Regions from separate parts of the Homo sapiens genome. Here region 2 is linked to region 1. Evidence: promoter capture Hi-C in 16 types of primary human blood cells and fetal thymus (Javierre and others, 2016). All regions are on one chromosome and are shown on one strand. The core of a region is centred on a gene start or on the middle of the fragment in contact, and the rest is flanking DNA. Distances in the headings are between cores, read along the strand shown.

Evidence for each region. Contacts are between HindIII fragments. The CHiCAGO score rates a contact against its expected background, and 5 or more counts as called.
Region 2: a contact is called between a fragment that was not itself captured here and the fragment with the promoter of BUB1B-PAK6 in region 1, in 4 of 17 cell types (naive B cells, total B cells, naive CD4 T cells and 1 more). The highest score is 13.6, in naive B cells.

The regions. Positions count from the first base shown.
Region 1 is chr15:40,215,644-40,219,972 of GRCh38, forward strand. BUB1B-PAK6 (BUB1B-PAK6 readthrough) reads left to right here and starts at 1,785. Exons shown (of 10, transcript NM_001128629.3): 1 at 1,785-2,024. It overlaps BUB1B (BUB1 mitotic checkpoint serine/threonine kinase B), which reads left to right. Exons shown (of 23, transcript NM_001211.6): 21 at 1,853-2,024; 22 at 2,813-2,919. All of the region lies in intron 1 of LOC107984763 (a long non-coding RNA gene), which reads right to left. The HindIII fragment of the contact is 293 bases long and covers 1,596-1,888 here.
Region 2 is chr15:39,799,663-39,803,991 of GRCh38, forward strand. It overlaps GPR176 (G protein-coupled receptor 176), which reads right to left. Exons shown (of 3, transcript NM_007223.3): 3 at 1-2,592. The coding sequence ends at 1,470. Among named protein-coding and RNA genes, the nearest start is that of FSIP1, 19 kb to the left of the region's middle. The HindIII fragment of the contact is 2,359 bases long and covers 660-3,018 here.

The DNA of each region.
Region 1 (4,329 bases), core at 535-3,034:
CTGTAGTCCCAGCTACTCAGGAGGCTGAGGCAGGAGAATGGCGTGAACCCGGGAGGCAGAGCTTGCAGTGAGCCAAGATCATGCCACTGCACTCCAGCCTGGGTGACAGAGCGAGACTCCATCTCAAAACAAAACAACAACAAAAGCCAGAAAGGGCTGGATGCAGTGGTTCACATCTGCAATCCCAGCACTTTGGGAGGCAGAGGCAGGAGGATCTCTTGAGGCCAGGAGTTCAAGACCAGCCTGGTCAACATAGCAAGACCCTGTCTCTACAAAAATAAAATAAAAGCCAGAAAGAACCTTTTGAAATTGCTTAGTTTAGTTGCTTACTTTAGTTTCTGCATATTTTTTGTGAGGAAAATGAGATCCAAAAAAATGGAATGTCCTACCCAAAGTAACAGTGAGTGAGTAGCTGATTAGAGGGCTAGGACACCTTCATGCATGCTTCTTTTTATTAATCTATGAGACATTTTTTCCCTATGCCTCCAAAGTTATATAAATATTTTACAATTACACTGGGCATGGTGACTCACATCTGTAATCCCAGCACTTTGGGAGACCAAGGCAGAGGATCACTTGAGCCTAGGAGTTCAAGACCAGTCTGGGCAATATAATGAGACCTCATCTCTACAAAAAATTAAGAAATTAGCCAGGCATGGTGGCACACACCAGTAGTCCCAGCTACTCGGGAGGCTGAGATGGGAGGATCGCTTGAACCTAGGAGGCAGAGACTGCACTGAGCTGAGATCGCACCACTGTACTCCAGCCTCAGTGACAAGAGTGTAGACCTTGTCTAAGAAACCAAACAAAACACACACATGCACACACTTTACATATATATATAAAATACATATGTATATTTTATATATATCAGAATCCACGATCCCTATAACTATATATATACTATATATATATATATATATATATATTTTTTTTTTTTTTTAATTATAGTATAGTTTTATGGTGGCCAAAAAAGGTTGGCTCTTGTGCCAAGGAAAAATGAGAGCAATTATCAATTTTAAAGTAAAATACATAGATCATTCTGTGCCGTGGAGGTATGTAATTGGAGTAGTTAAAGACTGTATTTAGGAATATTGCACCAATATCAGGAGTTTGAGGGAATTAATTGAGAAAAACAGACAAAAGGAACACATGAAAACCCACTCTTTTCATTTATAAACAGTTCCTATGTCCCCTTGGAGAATAGCATTATTGCATAGGATAGATAAACCCAAGGAAAACAAAATTAATTGATAATTAATTAGTATTATAAAGATTTTTTTAGTAAATAACTGGAATTACAAGTAAGAGTAAGATAAAATATGGTGTTTTACAAGAAATTTTACAATACAGATAGGACTTTATAAAACAGACTTGCATTGTTTTCCATTAAACTCTGGAAGGAAGAATCTAAACAATACTTGGAAAGCCTATCTGGAATAGTAAACAAGAAAGGCTATGACACCTATAAAATTTTAATTTCCTCCATCATAATTCCTGTCAGTGTATAAATCATTGCAATTGTATGTGTTAATGTGTACAGTACAGGGAAGAAGCCTGTGCTCTGCTTCCATACTTACTTTATATAATATGGAAGCTTGATAAATGTTTAATGGTGGCCATGCACCGTGATTGAAATATACTTTGTGTCACCAAAGTGGTGACATTCCTTCCGCATTGGGTGGACACTGCCACTGCTCTGTCTTACAGGTGCATTTTCAAAATTAACCACTGGAGGGAGTTGTTGGCATAGCTAAGATGTACCCAAGGTACCTTTTTTTTTTAAAGACCAGCTATGCAGCTTCTTTCATGGCCTATTTTTATTATCTCCTTCTCTTAAATCTGGGCTCAGAATCCACGATCCCTATGATTGTAACAAGAACAATCAAGCTTTGAAGATAGTGGACTTTTCCTACAGTGTTGACCTTAGGGTGCAGCTGGATGTTTTTACCCTCAGCGGCTTTCGGACTGTACAGATCCTGGAAGGACAAAAGATCCTGGCTAACTGTTCTTCTCCCTACCAGGTAAGTGTAAAACAAGCCTGAGCAAATATGGAGAGGGTTTCTTAATCTCTTTATTATCTAGATAAGCTATAAAAGCTACTGTTTACTGATACCGACTCCTAGAATAGATGACCTAGTTTTCAAATATCACCAAGTCAAGTAAAATGTAACATTTTTGTGTTACAGCATTGAAGAATATACACATACATGTGCAAACACATGACTAACTCTGTAACCGAGTGCCAGGGCCACTCCTACTGCCTACCACCCATGTAATCTTTTATAAGTCATTTTCTGTGATCTTCTCTGTAAAATAGGGATAACAGTCTCTGCTATGTGTTTATCAGAATTGTTATGAGGAGTAAATGAAGTAATGTATATAAAAAGAACATTAGCACAAATGTAAAGTCTTTTGTATGGTGGCATTATATGCAGAAATTCCTTCTAACTCAGCTTTAGACATAAGACATTTGCTGATTGAATATGTAGCACAAACCTGAACTAATCATGTGGACCCCATTTAGATCACAGCTGGAGTTCATGCAAACTCAGTAGGTCTACAAATTTGAATGTGATAGTCCAAATATTTCATCTTTTGTTCTTAAGGATAATTCCTAGAATTGGCTCTATTGATCACTTCTTTGGAGAGCTTCTCCCTTTACTGTAAGGGTGAGGAACAGTCTACTAAAATGTATGTCATAAAATAAACTTAGTTAAGCACTGTAATACCTTTCAACTTCCTACCGAAATAAGCTGCCATGGTAGAGGCAGAGAATTATTTTAGCTGATGGTGCTTTTTGTGATTTCAGGTAGACCTGTTTGGTATAGCAGATTTAGCACATTTACTATTGTTCAAGGAACACCTACAGGTCTTCTGGGATGGGTCCTTCTGGAAACTTAGCCAAAATATTTCTGAGTAAGTATTGATGAATGTCAGGGTCTCTGCCTGTCCCAATAATTTTCTGTTTCTCTTGGGTGCTATCTCTGCTTTGGCAGCCTTAGTTTTTTAATCCAAATGCCATGGTTCCAGTAGTTTCAGCCAGTTTTCATTAGAGTATCAGCAGAGCAGCTAGTGCAGGAAAAAGGAACTGCTTACTAAAAATAAGATTCAAAACTATTCAGACTTCAGGACATCATTCTGAATCTAGCTGTATCTTCCAGACTACAGCTATAGTATGGAAGCTTCCCTGTTTAGATATGTGAAAAGAAGCATTTCATGAGAATAATTTTCTAACTAATTGGTGTTAGCCTTAAATTCCTTTTTCTTTATTTATTTATTTTTTGAGACGGAGTCTCGCTCTGTTGCCCAGGCTGGAGTGCAGTGGCATGATCTCGGCTCACTGCAACCTCTGCCTCCCAGGTTCAAGTGATTCTCCTGCTTCAGCCTCCTGAGTAGCTGGGATTACAGGCGTGCGCCACCATGCCTGGCTCATTTTTGTATTTTTAGTAGAGATGCGGTTTCACTACGTTGGCCAGGCTGATCTCGAACTCCTGACCTTGTGATCCGCCCGCCTCGGCCTCCCAAAGTGCTAGGATTACAGGTGTGAGCCACCGTGTCTGGCCTAAATTCCTTTTTAATAGCAATTATTACCAAAAGTTAATAAGCATCCTTTGAAAAGACTTACATTTCTAAACTATATGCTAATTTTAGGCTATTTTTTATTTAATAAGTGGATAGAACCAAACCAGATAACTGACTCTCCTGGAGAAGAAGTAAGTGGTCTCTTAATAAGCACTGCTTGGTCTCAGAACCTTAGTACTCCCTCAAGCCTGCTCATAAAACTTACTAAGTCAGCCGGGCATGGTGGCTCACACCTGTAATCACAGCACTTTGGGAGGCCGAGGCAGATTACCTGAGGTCAGGAGTTTGAGAGCAGCCTGGGCAACATGGCGAAACCTTGTCTCTACTCAAAATACAAGAAAATTAGCTGGGTGTGGTGGCACATGCCTGTAATCCTAGCTACTTGGGAAGCTGAGGCACGGGAATCACTTGAACCTGGGAGGCAGAGGTTGCAGTGAGCTGAGATCGCGCCACTGCACTCCACCCAGGGCAACAGAGTGAGACTCCGTCTCAAAAAAAACTAAGTATCTACGTTCCACTTTAGCTTATCTTAGCAAATAAGTTCCCAGCCTGTCACCTATTGTTATATTCTTTGGTTAAAAAAAAAAATGAGTGTTGAAGATTTAATGCCCCTTCTCTATTTTCATCTTTGAATAATTGAATTGTACTTTTCTCTTCATTTAATTCAGAACTTGGCCAGTGTTGTCTCTTACATGAACTTTTAAAAATAGGCTTGAAATACAATGTAAGACATATAGGATGGAT
Region 2 (4,329 bases), core at 589-3,088, 420 kb before region 1:
ACCAGACTAGCTCCTGTAAGTACCAAGAGCAAGAACACAACACTCTAGAGAAAAGGGCAGAGCTGGCGCTTGGTTTGTCCTCACTAACAGGGAAGTATTATCTGCGGTTCTAATTCAACCTGGTGAAATCCACCCCAGAGGGGTCCCAAATTGCTTGTGAGGCTGATGAGTTGAGGACACTGCCCTCCCTCTTCTACCCAGTCTGGCTCTACAACGACAGGGAAGGAGGAAGTGAAGAGCTCATCTGGGTCAGATGTTGCCTTGGCACTCTACAATGATTATTTCTCCCTGTTCTGTTCCTCCTCTGTGTCCAAAATTAAGAGAGAACCGCAGCTGTACAAACAGACTGAAAAGGAGACTGGCCACACCTGAGTTCCGGAGTCTTCCTCGGAAGGAAACCATCTTTGTCAGATTCTTGCCAACCTTTTGGGCAGAGTCACCTTTCCAAATCAGGCCTTTTCAGTTTGATGTTTCCAAAGGACCCAGCTTACACTAACTCTCCATTTTAAAAATACCTTTTAATTCCTAAAGTTTGCATAAGATGATTTTTTCAATATATTTGACTCATACTGGTTGTTACATAGCACCTTTCATGTGAGATCATAGGGAAGAAAAAAAAACTACAGCGCCATAGGCATCTCTCAGGCATCTCCCCCGTAAGCTTCTCTCTCATTTGTTGAGAAAACACAATTTAAGGTGAAAGACAGAGCGAAGACTTTTCAGTGTTTTCCAGCCAACACTGACCCTGACTGGAGGGTGCAGGTGTATCTCTCTGAGGCGTTGGTGATGCCAAGGGAAAATCAGAATTATCAAGGACAAAATATCTCCCTTACTCCCGGGCACATCTATCGCCATGTGTACCATAGGTGAGGAATCGTCATTCCTTACCTACATCCCAATGAAAGGGACGAAGGGTATCAGGAGAAACAGTGAGTCATATGACTGGGGCTTCCAGAGAAACAGTGTAAGACACCAAATCCCTACCTTCTCAACAGAAAATGTTTGACATGTTTAAGTTCATCAAACAGGCATTTTCTCTGGAGCCACCATGCTCCATCATGATCTTGGAATTCCCTTAGAGTGCTCCTGCTCCCTGCTCCTGTGAGCTCTGAAAGTCTTCTCTCTGTGTGTTCTCTGCAGAGCCCAGGGAAGTGAGGCATCCTCAGAAAGTGCACATGGGGTACCCACCTCAAGACCCATTCAAAACTGCCCAGCTCTTGTCCCCACAGAGAATAATGTGGACTTCACTAAGGACATGGATCACTGAGATGGATACATATACTCCCTCAATAAAGAGGACACTGGATTTTATGTAGATTTCCCTATCATTCAAAAGCATCTGGCCCATATTGGAGGAATCAACTCACACTGAGTTGCAAGGAGATCATACAATCACATGGCCACAGCATTCCCACACTCTGGTGGGAATATGGAAGCTCCCCGTTGCTTCCAAGAATTTACAATCCTTGCTAGGAATCCACCTTTGGAAAAATGCTCACTTTATTGTTTCTGCTCATCTTCCGCTCCACCCTGCCTACCTTGGGCACCTTTGTCTGGATCAGCTCTTCTGGGGTGTTGCCCAAGGGGGGAAGCAGCCGCTTCTTGCTGTTTCGGGTCTCTGAGAGCCACTGAGGAGGCAACTCAAAAGGCCCAAAGCCAAACTGCAGGGAATACTTATCAGGGAATGTTTCAGGTTCCACAGGGGCTGCCGGTGCCACCTGGGATACAGAGTCCACTGTGCTCAGGGGTGGGGCAGAGGGCGCAAACTGTGGCCCCTGCTCTCCCTCCAGGCAGGTGCTAAATATCTCCTTGGCCTGGAAGTCAGCTGAGCCAATGTACTTGGCCTCACTCTCTTCCTCATCCTCTGTGGGCTTAAAGATCTGCTGCTGCCCAATGTGGAACATCTCCAGGAGCTGGCTACCCGAGCGTATGCTGGGTTCCAGGCTGGCCTCAGCCATGCCACTCCCTGTACTGACCACATTACGGCGACTGTACCGGTGGTGTAGTTGCACCAGGGTCCCTATCAAGCACTTGCGGACAGATTTGTTCACAGTAAGAAAGAGAACAGGGTTTGCCAGCAGGGAGACTTTGGGCAGCCAAACAGCAGTGAGCAGCAAGAAGACGGAAGTGTCAGGGACATTGAGCACAGTCTGGTAGACGACCAGGGTGGCATAGGGCACGCTACACAAGATGAAGACCATCACCATGGAGAGCAGGGTGGCGTGCAGCTCGGCCTCCCGCTGGGAGGCATAGGGAATAGAGATGGTGTTCTGTGGGGTCCGGAGCGCTGCTATGATGACCTTCTTCTTCTGGCTGGCACTCAGGGCCCGTCGGATCAGTATCAAGAAGAGGAACACCACCACCACAGGCACAATGACCGTGGTGATGTTATACACCAGAACGTACACCAGGTGGCCCAAGGAGTTGCTCCAGACTTCCGTGCAGGTGGACGTGGCATAGATGTCAGCCACATTGGTTACTGCAAACACAGGGACACTGGCCACCACTGCATGGGCCCAGATGTACATCACCAGTTCACGGGACTTGGCATCAGATATTTTCCTCTCCAGTGGATAGAGGACTGAGTAGTACCTGCAAGATACACAAACAAAATTAATTCCACAGAAGATACTTTTTAAATTAGGGGAACCTAAATCACCAAAAGTAGATGAGAGGGAAGAAAGGTCAAGTTCTTCTATTCGGCCTAAGACAGAAAAGCACTGGGGGAATCCAGGAAGCCAGACCTAAGTTTTGAGGACTTTGCAAGTACAATAAGAAGCGTCACTAGACCAAAAAATAAAAACCTTTCCAAAGGAGCAGCAAACCTGTCCTCATGAGGCTTTACAGGAAAACAAGTAAATAATTTCAATTCATAGCTAGCTTTATAATTATTGCTACCAGGATGAAATCGCAAACAGTACCCTCCATATAAAAGATTTCTCCATCTGCTATAAAGATATCTACTTTTCAATTTGAGGGTAAAGGGTAATTGGTAAACAATTTTATATGGGCTAAAGAAGCTTTAGGGCAATTTTCAAAGCTACCAACAGAAATAAGTTTGTCTACACACATATCTAAAGCAGACTTATGCCACAGTCCAGATATCATTAACAATTAAAGTTGTTCAGGGCAGAAGAACCAGTATGAAGAATGGACTCCGACAAGGTCCTTCCACAAAAATCAATTCAGCTGACAAAAGTTATGCCTGCTCAACAGTCATTGCTCCCATGATAATCACTCAGTAACCCTAAGGGCAATTAATAGGTCTAAAATGCCTGCACAATTAGATTTTTGTTAAAATCAGATGAGACATTGTTTTTCCTTCCAATATTTAACTTGATCATTCTGTAAGCACCTAAACAGAATTCCAAAAGCATGCCGTTTCAATATCACCAGTGATTTGAGGGAACTGAATAACTCTTTGCACCCTAGAACCACATCTGTAGTAAAAGGGCTGCCACTAGCTCTCAGAGATATGGTCAGTTTCTTCACATTTGCTTGGCCATATCTGTGCAGTCAGTTAATGCTGGGGTTGACCTTACAACCTTAGTGACACCCATTCACTCATAGGGCAAGTAAGCACATAAGCTTTCAGATAACAAGTACTTCTTTTTTTTTTTTTTTTTTTTTTTTTTGAGATAGAGTCTCACTCTGTCGCCCAGGCTGGAGTATAGTGGCATGATCTAGGCTCACTGCAACCTTCGCCTTCTGGGTTCAAGCCATTCTCCTGCCTCAGTCTCTCGAGCAGCTGGGATTACAGGCATGCACTACCACGCCTGGCTAATTTTTGTATTTTTAGTAGAGACGGAGTTTCGCCATGTTGGCCCAGGCTGGTCTCGAACTCCTAACCTCAGCTGATCCACCCGCCTCGGCCTCCCAAAGTGGTTGGATTACAGACGTGAGCCACCGTGCCCAGCCTCCTGTAACAGGTACTTCTGAGCACCACCTATGCACCAGGTCCTGTGCCTGGCACTGGGTTATAAGAATGAAAAGACACAGGAATGTCTCTAAACCCAACGGGGACAAAGATACACACACTAATAATTACGAACAAGGAGATGACAGCTCTACTAGAGGCAGGCACAAAGGAGGTACAGGTAGCGCCTAAAGCCACCTGGGAAAATAGCAAGAGAGGGAGACACTGCAGTGGAGTCTGGCAGGGGGACCAGCTGAAGGGGAACATTCCAGGCTGAAAGAGATGGGATGCAAACACAATAGCGACCATGGACAATCAGGGAAGGAGGGAGCATGGTAAGATATGTTCTAGATTTCTTTCTGGGAGGAGGGAAAAAGAGAAAGAAGTGCATAAGTGATGCATGCTTTCACATT